2 separate regions of the Homo sapiens genome follow, and region 2 is linked to region 1. Evidence: promoter capture Hi-C in 16 types of primary human blood cells and fetal thymus (Javierre and others, 2016). All regions are on one chromosome and are shown on one strand. The core of a region is centred on a gene start or on the middle of the fragment in contact, and the rest is flanking DNA. Distances in the headings are between cores, read along the strand shown.

Region 1 (4,736 bases), core at 1-2,500:
AAAAATTAGCCGGGCATCGTGGCACATGCCTGTAATCCCAGCTACTCAGAAGGTTGAGGCAGGAGAATCGCTTGAACCCAGGAGGCAGAGGCTGCAGTGAGCCGAGATTGCCTACTGCACTGTAGCCAGGGCGGCAGAGTGAGACTCTGTCTCAAAAAAAAAAAAAAAAAAGTGTATACAAATGACTTCTCTGAGTTTCATCTTCATTTGTGTCAGGCTTGAGGATATTTAAGAAGATTAAATGATGCAGTTCATATACTGTGGCTGGCACACAGCTGGTGCTCAGGGAATGGTAACCACTGTCATAAATCTCCCCATCATTAGATAAGCAGTTGTTTGCAGGAGGTATTTGCTATTTTTTGCCTCTTTCTAGGTGGCAGGGTGCTCACCAGATGTGGTTGGGTAACGGCAGTGTATTTCAAAGACCAAATGGCCTGAAAAAAATCAGTGAATGCTGGCACAGGGATTGCACAGTGCATCTGGATGCACGCAGGCCAGCCTCCAGAAAAGGAAACTGTGGGCTGGTGGCTTTTAACCACCCGGAAACCACAGAACTGACCAGACAAACCAGCCAAAGTAAAAGGCTGCAAAAACGTTATCTGTCCACTTTAGGGGCTGGCCGCTGGAATAATCACCAAGGTATCAACAGCAGTAGCAGCCACCCCGTTCTGAGCATGGTCTCAATTTTGACGTTTCTCATTTTATCCTCACAACAGCCCGGCAAGTGATCACAGGGTCACCTCCAGGCTCAGAGAGTTTACGAAACTGACAGACCCAAGGTCACAACTGAAAGTAGCCACCGGGGGACTTGAATCCGGGGCTGCCTGCTGCGGGTCTGTGCCACTGTCGGGGGTCCTGGGGTCCAACTCTGGAGACGCGGATTGCAGAACAGCCAAGCCGGCTGGGAAGGGGAGCAGCGTGTATGTAAACCATACTGGCTTAAGCCGGCTCTGTTCCTGGCCAGAGCAGTGCAAAGGTTCGGGGACCCTGCGGGTTGCTGGAGGCGAGTGCTCCCCCATCCGGCGCTCGCAGGTGGACTGGCGGGAGCTGCAAAATCAGTCCCGGCCAAAAGGCCCCGGTGGCCTCCGCTACGATCAAGGCCGGGCCTGACCAAGCTCGGGGTGCCAGGGCCCGGAAAGCCTTTACCTGACTGGCTCCTCGGGAAGACCAAGTCGTGACATTGCCCTGGGGAATGTTTGTTTCCGGGCGGACTCCTCGGAGCTGCTCGGTCGGTCGCGCTTGCGCAGAGCAGCTCTGGGCTTGGGAGCGGCCTAAAGCCAGAGAGAGGGGCGGGGCTTAGAGCACGAGGCGGGGTGGTGTCTGGGGCGGAGACAGGGGGCGGGGCGGTGCGAGATCTGGGATCGGAGGCCGGGATCGGGGCGGGGCGGGGCTTATAGCCAGAGGCGGGACTTGAGGTGGGGAGAGGCGCGGGGCGGGACTTAGGGCCGGGTGTTCCTGGTTGCTCAAAGCAGTTTCTGCCGGGCTCCTTGGGCTTCTATGGAAGCAAGAGGTATAGGAGGAGTTGTGGAATTTAGAGCTGGAAGAGTTAAAAAAAAAAAAAATACAGTGTTGGTGAGGTGATAATATTTTACACTCGCATTCGCTGTTGCTGGAAGGTTAAGGTGATTCATTCAACTTTTTGGAACTGCTGTCAGCACCTGTTCACCGACCACCTGTATGCACTGGGTGCAGATCCCACAGCTAGCGAAAAGACACGTGGAGCTCACAGTCAAATGGTAGAAACATAAATTAATCACACAGGGCTGGATGCAGTGGCATATGCTTGTAATTCCAACACTTTGGGAGGCCAAGAGGGGAGGATCACTTGAATCCAGGAGTTCGAGCCCAGCCTGGGCAACATGGCGAAACCCCATCTCTACAAAATAAAAATAAAAAATTAGCCAGGCGTGGTGGCACACACCTGTGGTCCCAGCTACTCAAGAGGCTGAGGTGGGAGGATCGCTTGAGCCCAGGAGGTCGAAGCTGCAGTGAGCCGTGATAGCACCACTGCACTCCAGCCTGACAGAGGTAGACCGTCTCAAAAATAAGAAGAAGAAGATAAGAAGTTTTTAATGCAAAAAAAAAAAAAAAAAAAAATCACACTGATAAAGCAGTGGCCTTTGGTCCTTCTAGAGCGTGTGAAGGAGAAATGTGACCCAATTAGGAGACAGAAGAGGCTTGGTAGAGGAAATAGAAGTGCAGCTCATCTTGAAAGCAGTAGTTCTCAAAGTGTGGTCCTCAGACCAGCAGAATCAGGATCACTTTGGTCCTGTTAAAAATGTGGACTCTGGGCCAGGCGCTGTGGCTCACACCTGTAATCCCAGCACTTTGGGAGGCCAAGTCGGGTGGATCACCTAAGGTCAGGAGTTTGAGACCAGCTTGGCCAACATGGTGAAACCCCATCTCTACTAAAAAAACAAAAATTAGCCAGTGGCAGGCGCCTGTAATCTCAGCTACTAGGAGGCTGAGGCAGGAGAATCGCTTGAACCTGGGAGGCGGAGTTTGCAGTGGGCCGAGATCGCGCCATTGCACTCCAGCCTGGGCAAAAAAAAGCGAAACTCTGTCTCAAAAACAAAACAAAACAAAACAACAACAACAACAACAACAAAAACCAAGAAAGAAAGAAAGGAAAGAAAGAAAAGAGAAAAGAAAAGAAAAGAAAAAAGACGAAAAGAAAAGAAAAGAAAAGAAAAGGTGGACTTTGGGGCCCATGTCACAACTGCTGAATCAGAAGCCAGGTGTCAGGCCCAGTGATCTGTGCTGTAAGGGGATTCTGATGCTCTGTGCGGGATAGAGGACATAAATGAGGAAAAAGGCAAGGGAGAGTGTTCAAGGAAGAGGGCAAAGTTTGTGCAAAGACAGCAGAAAGGGGCTGGAGAACAGTGTGTGTGAGGGAGCCTGGTGCGAGCTGAGAATCCAGGGGTCAGTGTAGGGCTGACTTCTCCCTTACAGGCACAGGACACACACAGTAATTTTAGGGACCTGTGAAAATGTTTTAATTGTAATTTCTTTTTAAATTAGAAGAAGAAAAGGTATGTAATAAAAGCAATATATAATAATGAATCCAGCTTGGATGATAGTCATTTTATGAATTCAGTCATAAAATATTCACTTTAAAATTATTTTATGGAAGAAGGGGTGCACAAAAACAAAGTAGCTAGGGCCCATGAAAGTAATATTGTGGCTGGCCCTAGGTCAGTGGGGCAGTTTGTGAAATTATTAATGAAATGAAATATTAATGAAATATCGCTGTGATATTTACAACATCCAGTGTTTACACACCGTGACATCAATGAAATATCGATGTGATATTTATAATATCCAGTGTTTACACACTGTGATATTAATAAAATATGGCTGATATTTGTAATATACAATGTTTACACACCGTGATATTAATATAATATCGCTGTGATATTTATAATACCCAGTGTTTCCACACTGTGATATCAATGAAATGTCTCTGTGATATTTGTAATATCAAGTGTTGATGCACCATAACATCAATGAAATATCACAGATATTTACAACATCCAGTGTTTACACACCATGACCTCAATGAAATATCAATATGATATTTATAATATCCAGTGTGTACACACCGTGATATTAATAAAATATGGCTGTGATATTTGTAATATACAGTGTTTACACACCGTGATATTAAGCAAACATCGCTGTGATATTTATAGTATCCAGTGTTTACACATCGTGATATAAATGAAATATCGCTGTGATGTTTATAATATCCAAGGTTTACAAACTGTGATACCGATGAAACATCGCTGTGATATTTATAATACCCGATGTTTACACAAAGTGTTTACACACTATGATGTTAAATATCGTTGTGATTTTTATAATATCCCGTGTGAAATTAATGAAATATCACTGTGACACTCATAATATCCAGTGTTTACACAGTGCTTACACGCTGTTACGTTAATGAAATATCACTGTGATATTCATAATATCCAGTATTTACACACAGTGCTTACGCACTGTGACATTAACGAAATATCGCTGTGATATTCATAATATCCAGTGTTTCCACACAGTGCTTACACACTGCGATATTAATAAAATATCGCTATGATATTCATAATATCCAGTGTTTGCACACAGTGCTTACACACTGTGACATTAATGAAATATCGCTGTGATTTTCATAATATCCATTGTTTACACACAGTGTTTGCACACCGTGATATTAATGAAATGTTGTGATATTTCTAATATCCAGTGTTCACACATAGTGTTTACACGCCATGATATTAATGAAATATCGATGCAATATTTATAATATCTAGTGTTTACACATCATGATATTAAGGAAATATCGGTGTTATATTTATAATATCCAGTGTTTACACACCGTGATACTAATGAAATATCGCTGTGATATTCATAATATCCAGTGTTTACACACAGTGCTTACACACTGTGACATCACTGAAATATTGCTGTGATATTTACGATATCCTGTGTTTACACACTCTGATATTAGTGAAATATCACTGTGATATTGACAACATCCAGAGTTTATACACTGTGATATCAGTGAAATATCGCTGTGATATTTACAATATCCAGTGTTTACACACTGTAATATCAGTGAAATATTGCTGTGATATTTACAGTATCAAGTTTACACACTGTGATACCAGCAAAATATTGCTCTGATATTTACAATATCCTGTGATTACACACTGGTTACACACTGTGATATCGGCGAA
Region 2 (4,736 bases), core at 1,581-4,080, 540 kb after region 1:
TAATTATGTGGTCTGTAAAAATATAAATGGGCCAGGCGTGGTGGCTCATGCCTCTAATCCCAGCACTTTGGGAAGTTGAGGTGGGTGGATCACTTGAGGTCAGGAGTTCGAGACCAGCCTGGCCAACATGGTGAAACCCTGTCTCTACTAAAAATATAAAATTAGCTGGGTGTGATGGCATGTGCCTGTAATCCCAGCTACCTGGGAGTCTGAGGCAGGAGAATCAGTTGAACTTGGGAGGTGGAGGCTGCAGTGAGCCAAGATCATGCCATTGTACTCCAGCCTGGGCAAAAAGAGCGAAACTCCATCTCAAAAATAAATAAATAAATAAATAAATAAATAAATAAATAAACACCAACAAAAAAAGGGACTCCTGTAAATATACAAAAAAAAAGCAGATCATTTAAAAGTAAAATGTCAAAACATTTTAAACTATGAGATAATGCAGGTATTATAACATCTGAGGGTCTATGTTACTATCAGAAAAAAATACTTCAAAATAAGAAATATTAAAACAGGACATATCATGATGATACAAAGTTCAAGAATATGTTTTCATCCAGAAGACACAACAATCCTAAATATACATATATGAATGCAAAACTTCAAAATACACAAATGTCAAATTGACAGAAAATAAAGGAGAAATAGACAAATCCCTAATTATAGTTGGAGATTTCAGCACTCCATGCTCAGTAATTGACAGAACACTAAGGTAGAAAACAAGAAAGGGTATAGCTAATGTGAACAACTATCAGCCAAATCAACTTAATTGACATTTGTAAAAATACTCCTCCCAATTATAGTAGAGTATACATCCTTTTAAAGTGTACATGGGACACTCACAAGGTACAGCATATGCTGGAAGATAAAACAAGCTTTAATACGTTTTTAATAAGTAAAATTATAAAGAAGGTGTTCTTCGATTACAATAGAATTAAAATAGAAATTATTAACAAAAATATCTGTGAAATCTCTATTGAAAATTAAGACAACACACTTCATATTGACACGTGGATCAAATAATAAATCTCGATGGAATATTAGAAAATATTTTGAACTGAATGAAAATAAAGACACAACAAATAATTTGGAAGATACAAAGCAGTGCTTATAAGAAAGTGTATAACTACATGCTTATGTACATAGGAAGAAATGCCTATAATCAATAGTCTACATGTGAACTTTAAGAAGCTGGAAAATAAGAAGGAAATTAAACCTGAAGTAACTAAGAAGTAAGGGAATAATAAAGATAAGAGTGAAATTTGGTGAGACAGAAAACATACAACCAAAAGAGAAAATCAATGCAACAATATATATATTTTTCGAAAAGATCCATAAAATTACTGAAACTTTTGCTTAAATGATAAAACAGGAGACAAATTACCAATAGTAGGGCTGAAAGAAGGTAACATGATTAGAGATGGCATAGACATACATGGGTAGTAAGAAACTACTATGAGCACTTTAATGGCAAAAACTTTGAGAATATAGAGGAAAAATTACTGAAAGACGCCAATACAAATATTTATTCACAAGGAATGGAACAAACCTGAGGGCTCTATATCACTAAGTAAATTAGATTTATAATTAAAAGTTTTCCCATAAAAATTCCAGGCCTAGATGACATCAATGGTGGATTCAAATATTTAAGTAACAAGTATTACAAATGTTGTATAATTTTGTTCAGAAAAGCAAAAAAAGGGAAAAACTTTTCAACTTTATAATTTGATAATTACCATAATAATAAAACTATAGCAAACATTATAAAAATGAAAAAGCAGGTCAAATTTCTTCAAGAATATGGATTCAAAAATCTGTAGACTATTGAATTCAATATATTGACATATCAAAAGTGAAGAAGAATATCACAAAATTTGATTACTATTCATTAAAGACATTCTTATCAACTAGGAATAAAGGAAAATGTACTTAAGATGATGAGAACATGGAAGAAAAACCTGCAGTTAACTTTAGCCTTTATGGGGAAAGACCGACTACTTTCTCCCTAAGATTAGGGGAAAGTCAAGGATGTCTGTTATTGTCACTTTTGCTCAAGATTACATTGCATATTTAAAGCTAGTATAAATAGAAAAAAAAGAGAAATAAATAAAAACCCCTAAATATTAGTAATGAAAATATCTCTTTTATTCTGAAACAATATGGCATTGTATATAGACATTTTAAGTTATATACATGTGACTGTAACAAGGTTAAAGAATACCAAAATCAATTACATATGGATATACACACAGCAATAATACAGGTAGATACATACACACACACACACAGAAAATTAATGAAGGAAAGGAATATGGAATCTTAAAAGATAAATACCATATGCAATAGCATAAAAACTTAAAATACTTAGGAATAATTATAATGATATATATGCTTATATAATTATAATAATACATATGCCTTAATTATCCACTGTAAAATCATTTTTTTTTTCTGGAGGAACTTAGAAGATTTAGTAAATTGAGATATTCACTATGTCCAACAATTGGAAACTTCTCATTATCAAAATATAAATTCTCCCTAAAATTATCTACTGAATTTTACATAATCCTAATATAAAACCTAGAATGGTTTGTAAAGACAAATTACAAAATTATTTTGATATGAAAATGCCAGTATTTTAGAATAGCCAAGACGTTTCTGAGGAACAAAGATAGACTTAAACTACATTATTTTAATATTTACTGTAAAGCTAAAGTAACAAAGATCACGTATTGATGTAAATATAAATATATAGATCAATTTATCAAATCACACAGTCCTGATTTCTCCACACCTGTATGGTTCAACAAAGATACCAATCTAATTAATTGAAGAGATGCTAATCTTACCAACAAATAGAATTGGAACAGTGGACATTCACATGGAGAAAATGAACTGCAACCCTTATATAACACCATACAAAAATTTAATTTACAGTATATTATACAGCTTAACATAAAAGCTAAAATGGTATTTCTTGTGGAAAACATAGAAGAAAAATTCTACAATCTTGGTGTATATATAATGATTTATTCGTTTTGTCACAAAATCATGAATCATCAACCAAAACAATGAGAAACTGAACTTGAAAAATATGAAAATCTGCTCAAGACAGTGTTAGCAAATGAAAATGCAAGCAATAGACTGAAAAAATACCTGTGCGCATCAAATAACTTGTACCCATAATACAAAAATTTTAAAAGGACATATTAAACTCAATAATATGAAAGCAAACAATTCAATAAAAAAGATTTAAACAGAAACTTGATCAAATAAGACACAAAAGGCCAATAAGTCCATGAAAAAATGCTTACCATAATAATCAGTCCTAAAAAGGCACATTGTATCTAGAGTAAGAATTGACCACATACTAGCTAGAATTGCTAATATTTAAGAAAAACTTACAATACAAATTGCTCGAGGAAATTTGCAGAAACAAACTCTTCCCCATTGCTGGCAGGAATGCAAGATGGTGCAACTTTGAAAAATGCTTTGGTAGATTCTTATGAGGTATAAATACACACTCTTACTGCATGACTCACCCATTTTATTCTCAGGTATTTACCATGAAACATATGCCCACAAAATTATTTCTGCACACATGCTAACAGCAACTTTCTTTATAGTAAATAAAAACTGGAGAAAAGCTCCAAATATCCAACAAGAAGATAATGGACAATGAATTGTGGTATATTCATAATACTACTCAGCAATAAAAACAACTGAACTATTGATACGTATAACAACAGCATGAATCTCTAAAGTATTTTGCTGAGCAAAACAGCCAGATACAAAAAAGTACACACTTTTTGATTCCATTTGTAAGAAATGCTAGAAAAAAAATCAAATGTATTTTGATAGAAAGCAGACCAGTGTTTGTCTAGTGCAGGGGCTAGGGAGGACTTCAGCAAAGAATCACCAGGGAGGTTTTTTATTTTTGTAAAATTTTTTTCTGAGACAGAGTCTGGCTCTTTCGCCAGATTGGAGTGCAGTGGCACGATCTCGGCTCACTGCAAACTCTGACCTCTGGTTCAAGCGATTCTCCTGCCTCAGCCTCCCAAGTAGCTGGGACTACAGGCCAGTGCCACCATGCCCAGCTAATTTTTGTATTTTAGTAGAGATGGGGTTTCACCATGTTGGCCAGGATGGTCTCGATCTCTTGACCTCGTGATCTGCCCGCCTCGACCTCCCAAACTGCTGGGATTACAGGTGTGAGCCACCGTGCCTGGCCTATTTCTCTTTTATTTTCTTAAAGTGTTTGTGAGTGTATTATTTCTTTCGTAAGTATTCATTTGAATTCAGTTAAACAAACTATTTACATTGTAAAACCAATTCAATATGCAAAGTCTGTTTCTTTAATGATTTCCATGCTATTGAAATTTTGTATTTATTCTTGAGTGTATTTTGGTAATTTTTTTTTTTTAAATTTTGTTTGTTTGTTTAGATGGAGTCTTGCTCTGCCACCTGTGGTGGAGTGTGGTGGTGTGATCTTGGCTCACTGCAGCCTCCACCTCCCAGGTTCAAGCGATTCTCCTGCCTCAGCCTCCTAGCTAGGACTACAGGCAGTTGCCACGATGCCCGGCTAATTTTTAAAAAATATTTTTTAGTAGGGACAGGGTTTCATGATGTTGGCCAGGCTGGTCTCGAACTCCTGGCCTCAGCTGATCCACCTGCCTCGGCCTCCCAAGGTGTGGGATTACAGGCATGAACCACTGCATCTGGCCCTCTTTTGG

The links. The method cuts DNA at HindIII sites, captures the fragments that hold promoters and counts their contacts. A CHiCAGO score of 5 or more calls a contact.
Region 2: a fragment that was not itself captured here is called in contact with the fragment with the promoter of NUDT7 in region 1 in 1 of 17 cell types (non-activated CD4 T cells); the score reaches 5.6 in non-activated CD4 T cells.

The regions. Positions count from the first base shown.
Region 1 is chr16:77,719,028-77,723,763 of GRCh38, reverse strand. NUDT7 (nudix hydrolase 7) reads right to left here and starts at 1,250. Exons shown (of 4, transcript NM_001105663.3): 1 at 1,147-1,250. The coding sequence starts at 1,181. RefSeq lists a silencer at 1,275-1,404 and an enhancer at 1,118-1,412. The HindIII fragment of the contact is 15,416 bases long and covers 1-4,736 here.
Region 2 is chr16:77,182,111-77,186,846 of GRCh38, reverse strand. No RefSeq gene overlaps it. Among named protein-coding and RNA genes, the nearest start is that of MON1B, 6.7 kb to the left of the region's middle. The HindIII fragment of the contact is 3,900 bases long and covers 881-4,736 here.